2 separate regions of the Homo sapiens genome follow, and region 1 is linked to region 2. The links are contacts of gene promoters, found by promoter capture Hi-C in human tissues and cell types (Jung and others, 2019). All regions are on one chromosome and are shown on one strand. Each heading gives the region's core, a stretch centred on a gene start or on the middle of the fragment in contact. The rest is flanking DNA. Distances are from core to core; before and after follow the strand shown. Region 1 has its middle 47 kb from the start of OR8B12. Region 2 holds the start of OR8B4 (olfactory receptor family 8 subfamily B member 4).

What was found. Contacts are between HindIII fragments. The study calls those that stand out against the background at their distance.
Region 1: a fragment that was not itself captured here is called in contact with the fragment with the promoter of OR8B4 in region 2 in 2 of the 25 tissues and cell types used here (adrenal gland and thymus).

Annotation. Positions count from the first base shown.
Region 1 is chr11:124,495,204-124,498,344 of GRCh38, reverse strand. No RefSeq gene overlaps it. Among named protein-coding and RNA genes, the nearest start is that of OR8B12, 47 kb to the left of the region's middle. The HindIII fragment of the contact is 7,572 bases long and covers 1-3,141 here.
Region 2 is chr11:124,423,568-124,426,616 of GRCh38, reverse strand. OR8B4 (olfactory receptor family 8 subfamily B member 4) reads left to right here and starts at 1,746. Exons shown (of 1, transcript NM_001005196.1): 1 at 1,746-2,675. The coding sequence starts at 1,746. The coding sequence ends at 2,675. The HindIII fragment of the contact is 10,487 bases long and covers 1-3,049 here.

The DNA of each region.
Region 1 (3,141 bases), core at 493-2,992, 72 kb before region 2:
TCTCGTTCCCCAGAAGTAGGTCAGGTCACCAACCAGTGTAGGGAAACGTCTGGGCTGAAGTGGAAATAGTTTTAGAGAGGTTGCCTTCTTTACATTTTCTAGTTACTTTTTCAAGATAATTTGAAAAATAAATGTATCAGCAGTGAAATAGTTCTTAGCTATATTTATGGGGCGTCGGAAGCAATAATTTAACACGCAACTATGTACTTATATGAGATAAGCAATTACGTGTTTTTCACAAGAGGAAACCTGGTTTTGGCAAAAGATTTCCCTTCTTTCTAAATGGGCCAATTATTTCTGGCCGAAAGCAGATGATTCCTTTTAAATGGGCACCTATTTTTCATGCCCTAGCAGAGTAAAGAATGAGAGGAATCCTTTTATTTTATCCATATTTCCGCTTTTCCCTGCTGAAGCTGGGTAACTGAACTGGAGTTGAATGGCCTGGTCTCCACAGGGTTCTCTTTTTAGGACTGGCCTGTCCTCTGGACCAGCATTTGTAGCCTCTTTGATGTACCCCATCCCCCTTGGTAGGGGAGGCCTGATATTGTTTGTTTCTCCTTGTGCCTGGGTTCATTAGGCTTGTCTGGCAAAAGCAATGAGGGAATCAGAAAATCCCAGTGTGGTTGTAGATTTAAGCTGTGTCCTCCAGTTAACTTTATCAGTATTAAAGCTGAAATTTTGGGCCGGGCGTGGTGGCTCACGCCTGTAATCCCAGCACTTTGGGAGCCTGAGGAGGGCAGACTGCCTAAAGTCAGGAGTTCCAGACCAGCCTAGCCAGCATGGTGAAACCCCATCTCTACTAAAAATACAAACATTAGCCGGGCGTGGTGGTAAGCACCTGTAATCCCAGCTACTTGGGAGGCTGAGGCAGGAGAATCGCTTGAACCTGGGAGGCAGAAGTTGCAGTGAGCCCAGATTGTGCCATTGCACTCCAAGCTGGGTGACAGAGTGAGACTCTATCTCAAAAAAAAAAAAAAAAAAAAAAAAAGCTGACATTTTTATCTGCTTCTGTGATTATCCTGTGTCTTATTTCTCAATTTGTCTTCCAGTGAGGGTGCAGAGAATAGGATAAATGGTCATCATCTTTAACAACCTCAACTACCGCCTTCTTACCCTTCCACCCATTCAGCATTGTAGCCCGTAGTGTCATGCACCTTTGCCCAAATATGCAGGGCTTTACTGGGCTTCCATTTCCAATTTTTGTTTTTGCTTTTTTTTTTTTTTTTGTTCCTATGCCTGCAATGCCCTCCTTCACCCTCTGCTGTTAACCTGCTTATTATTCATGACTCATAGTAATATGTTCCTACTATATTATAAATCTGAGAACATATTTTCTTAGAAACAATGTAATAGTAACATAATGGGACATGGTTTCTGAGTAGAATTTAAAGTAAAATAGGCCAGGCACGGTGGCTCACACTTGTAATCCCAGCACTTTGGGAGGCCAAGGCGGGCGGATCACGAGGTCAAGAGATCGAGACCATCCTGGCCAACATGGTGAAATGCCATCTCTACTAAAAATACAAAAATCAGCTGGGCGTGGTGATGCACACCTGTAGTCCCAGCTACTCGGGAAGCTGAGGTAGGAGAATCACTTGAACCCCGGAGGCGGAGGTTGTAATGAGCCGAGATGGCACCACTGCACTCCAGCCTAGGTGACACAGTGAGACTCTGTCTCAAAAAAAAAAAAAAAAAAAAAGTAAAATAAATGAAAGATATGATCAGCAATATGTTATCAAAGCAAAAATACACTATATGTTAAAACATGTAATTATGTTTCATCAAGGTCTCTAATTTTATAAAATGGGGCATGAGCTACTTTCTGAATTGATTATCTAGGGAAAGTCAATAGGCAATAAAGCAAAGTTATACGGCCCATGAAAAATAGATCTTTATTGTGATTTTGACTACTTAAAACATAAATGTATGTTAAACAAGAATTTAACTAACAATAATGTAATTAACTTTAATAAACATTAACATGAATTTAGAGATGTGTTGATGACCTTTGCTATTTTATAAACCTACCCAGAAACTTTTGAAGTGACACACATATTCAGTATCTATCTGTGTAGTATGTAAGTCATGTATAATGTTTTCTATTACCATCAGAGCTGCATCATCCGACATTATTTTAAGAAATAATTATTGTCATAAAATGAAATGGAGAAACAAACTGTATATTAATACAATGGTAAAATACACAGAAAAAACCTTCAAAGTACTGCTGCATATAACAACACAGACCCATCTATCTCACAGACATAATTATCAAAATAAACCAGGGAACAAAATATGTCAAGTTCAAGAATAGGTGAAGTTGGTCTATAAAGGTAGAATACAGAATATGGGAACTTCTTGGGAGAGTGGTGTTGCTGTTGACTAAAGAGTGTCACGAAAGAAACTTCTGGGTGTTGGAAATGTTCTGTACCTTGATCTGAGTGGTGACTGCAGACTGTGTTGCTCTCTGAAGATTTTTGCACTTTAAGTATGCTATCCATAGCGTAGGGTGAAGAAATGCGGGTATATTATAAACGGATAAAAAAAGAAATTCTGGGTATGATCGAGCAAAAACTCTACCAGATGACACCCCTACAGGAAAATTAAATGTAGACATAATTAAAGAAAAGCAAAAATCCCTGAAGGTGCTGTAGAATGAACAGAAGCAGATTGATCCTGGTAGGGAATGAAGAATCACTTGGAGGAGGGGAGATGGGGAGCGATACTAAGTAAGCGCCCATCTTGGTAGCTTTTTCCTTGGCACCAAGTGTAGCCTACACAGTGCCCATGTGGAAAAATTCATAGCCTCTCTAACTCAGGAAACAAGAAAAGCAAAGTCAAGAAATCCCAAATACTGAAGAGAGCTGGGGAAGTTCTGGAAACAAATGAACCAGAGAGGAGATCCCCAAACTGGATTCACTCACATCTTTGACCTAAATCATGCACGTGCAGCACAGACTCAGCAGCTCAAGTAAAGATGAAATATCTGGACTGGTATCAGACATGCTCAAGAAAGAAAAACTTGCATTTTAAGCCCAGCCAAGAAAATTCTGTGTAAAAGGAAGGCAAACAAAACTCACTGGAGAAAAAAAAAAATCCAGACTTTCCACTTAACATTTACGATGTCCAGGATACAATCTC
Region 2 (3,049 bases), core at 497-2,996:
CTGAGAGTGAAAGGGTATGCTATTAATAATTATACAGAGATAATGAGTGTAAGTCAGGACTGTCCCAGGCGAACTGGGATTATTTTAGGTAGCCTTAGTGAAACTTACAAATGCAGATGCTCCCATGTCTTTGAATTTTTCTTAAAATATTCATCTAGCAGATCATATGGAGAGCAGCTTTGTCATCTGAATAATGGCAGGATTAGACCCTTACATCCATCTCCCATTATACCTTAAGCCTGCATGCCTAGAGAGTAACTCTGTGTAGGGGTGTGTGTGTGTGTGTGTGTGTGTGTGTGTGTGTGTGTGTGTGCTTTCTAGCATATGTGTTGTGATATTTTAATCTCTTCATATATAGTAAAGGCCTGTCTGCGGCCCTTATTAGAGCTGCGAGTAGGTGGTGTTTGTGGTGGAGGTGGTGTGGTTTCTGTTCTGAGCAGCGCATGGTCCAAGAAGCCTTTTATCTGAGGTGCTCTCTGTAGATCTGATCTGACCTTTTCTGAGGGGTCCTACTCTCATAGCTCCCTGTGAAGATTTGGAGATGGTGGCTTAGGTTGGGGCTATTCACTCTTAAATTCAAGCTTAGGCTCTGAGAGTTAATGAGAAAGGAAAAAATGAGTCCCCAAACTCAGCACTGAATAACATGAAATCCCTGGAGTAGAGGGAAAGTTTGAGTGGAACCCCCACTCCCAAGATGCTAGGTAAGCACCGTTATCCAGGCTGTAAACAAAGACAGTGCAATTCCTTCCCTATAGAGACAGATCTTGGAGAAATTCCCAGGGGAAACTGTGTCTAATCAGGTCCCTGAGATCGTCAAGCAGCTTAAATTCCTCTGTGATATGACAGCTGGGGTTCTGGTCAAAATGAGAGTTCCTAGTTTTTTTTCCTGAAGTTGTCAAGACCACCTGGGAAAATCCACAAACAGAAACCATGGTCTATTCCTTGAGCACCTTGGAGCCTGGGGTCTGTAAAAGCTCTGATTCTCAGCACCAAGGGAGTCAAAAGAGGTAATACGCAAGGCTGTGTGCTTTCTGCACAAGCAGCACCATTTTCTCTTTCTGGCTAATGGAAAAAGAGATGGCGTAAGGCCCAGCACTGAGTGGGGCCCGGGAGAAGGAAGGTGAAGGTCCGAATCCTGTCTTTCCTGATGGTCTCTTTGAAACCCACAACCAAGGGCTCTGGGAAGTATGGATCCCGTCTCTGCTCTCAACACTGACCCTGAGGTGAGATGGAATGGAGGGTCTTCGAGGAGGCGGGTGGGATGTAAAGAGCCAGCAGGTAACACTCTTGGCTTTCTCTCCAGATGGAAATCCACTATCTAGTTGGGAGACGGAGGCAGAGAATGGGAGGGCATCCTGGTGACCTTGAGAGCTCTGGTCTCTCAGCTCTTGAGGCAGCGGCCCAGGTTGTACTCTTGGTTCTCAGGGTGTCTTTCTGAGAGTCCCTGGGCAGCCAATTCAGGTGTGTTGTCTCCCTCGTCATCTCTCAAGCAGAGACGGAATTCTTGCTGCCCATGGTAACAGATGCTAGCTTGAATTCATGATCGGCCCAGCAGAGCTGAGATCCTCTCACAGACACGTTGTTAATACCTCAGGGTGGGGAGGTGTGTAGATGAGGGAGGATGGAAGAGAGGGCATCTGCACACTGGCTGGTCCACTAGAGTCTTCTTCCCTTAGCCATGCTTGTGCCTGTCATGACTCTTTGTGTTTTGCCCTCTGCTTCCCCAGACAGCTCGCCAAGAGAGAATGACTCTGAGAAACAGCTCCTCAGTGACTGAGTTTATCCTTGTGGGATTATCAGAACAGCCAGAGCTCCAGCTCCCTCTTTTCCTTCTATTCTTAGGGATCTATGTGTTCACTGTGGTGGGCAACTTGGGCTTGATCACCTTAATTGGGATAAATCCTAGCCTTCACACCCCCATGTACTTTTTCCTCTTCAACTTGTCCTTTATAGATCTCTGTTATTCCTGTGTGTTTACCCCCAAAATGCTGAATGACTTTGTTTCAGAAAGTATCATCTCTTATGTGGGATGTATGACTCAGCTATTTTTCTTCTGTTTCTTTGTCAATTCTGAGTGCTATGTGTTGGTATCAATGGCCTATGATCGCTATGTGGCCATCTGCAACCCCCTGCTCTACATGGTCACCATGTCCCCAAGGGTCTGCTTTCTGCTGATGTTTGGTTCCTATGTGGTAGGGTTTGCTGGGGCCATGGCCCACACTGGAAGCATGCTGCGACTGACCTTCTGTGATTCCAACGTCATTGACCATTATCTGTGTGACGTTCTCCCCCTCTTGCAGCTCTCCTGCACCAGCACCCATGTCAGTGAGCTGGTATTTTTCATTGTTGTTGGAGTAATCACCATGCTATCCAGCATAAGCATCGTCATCTCTTACGCTTTGATACTCTCCAACATCCTCTGTATTCCTTCTGCAGAGGGCAGATCCAAAGCCTTTAGCACATGGGGCTCCCACATAATTGCTGTTGCTCTGTTTTTTGGGTCAGGGACATTCACCTACTTAACAACATCTTTTCCTGGCTCTATGAACCATGGCAGATTTGCCTCAGTCTTTTACACCAATGTGGTTCCCATGCTTAACCCTTCGATCTACAGTTTGAGGAATAAGGATGATAAACTTGCCCTGGGCAAAACCCTGAAGAGAGTGCTCTTCTAATGGGTCTCTTCATATCACTGGCAACCGATTCTCGGTAAGCATGATACTCAAGTGTCTTTCTATTTATAGGCGGAGGAATTTTAATATTTTTCCTCAAAGAGGGTCTCCTCTCCACTTTTAAAAATTGGAAATCTCTTTCCTATACTCTCCTTGAGGACTATATTATTTTGCAACAATTAAATTGGCTCACTGCCTGCAAGTTAGTGTCTATGAAATGCCTTTTGTTTACTGAACTCTGTATTAGGCCCAAGAGATGAGTAAGATGAGGCTCCATGCCTTCCATTCTTTTCTTGGTAGGCTAAATGGGTTTTTCTGAGCAAGAACGTTTCTGGCTGGAACAAGGGGCAGGTGGTGGTATAAAGGTTGAGGAGTGT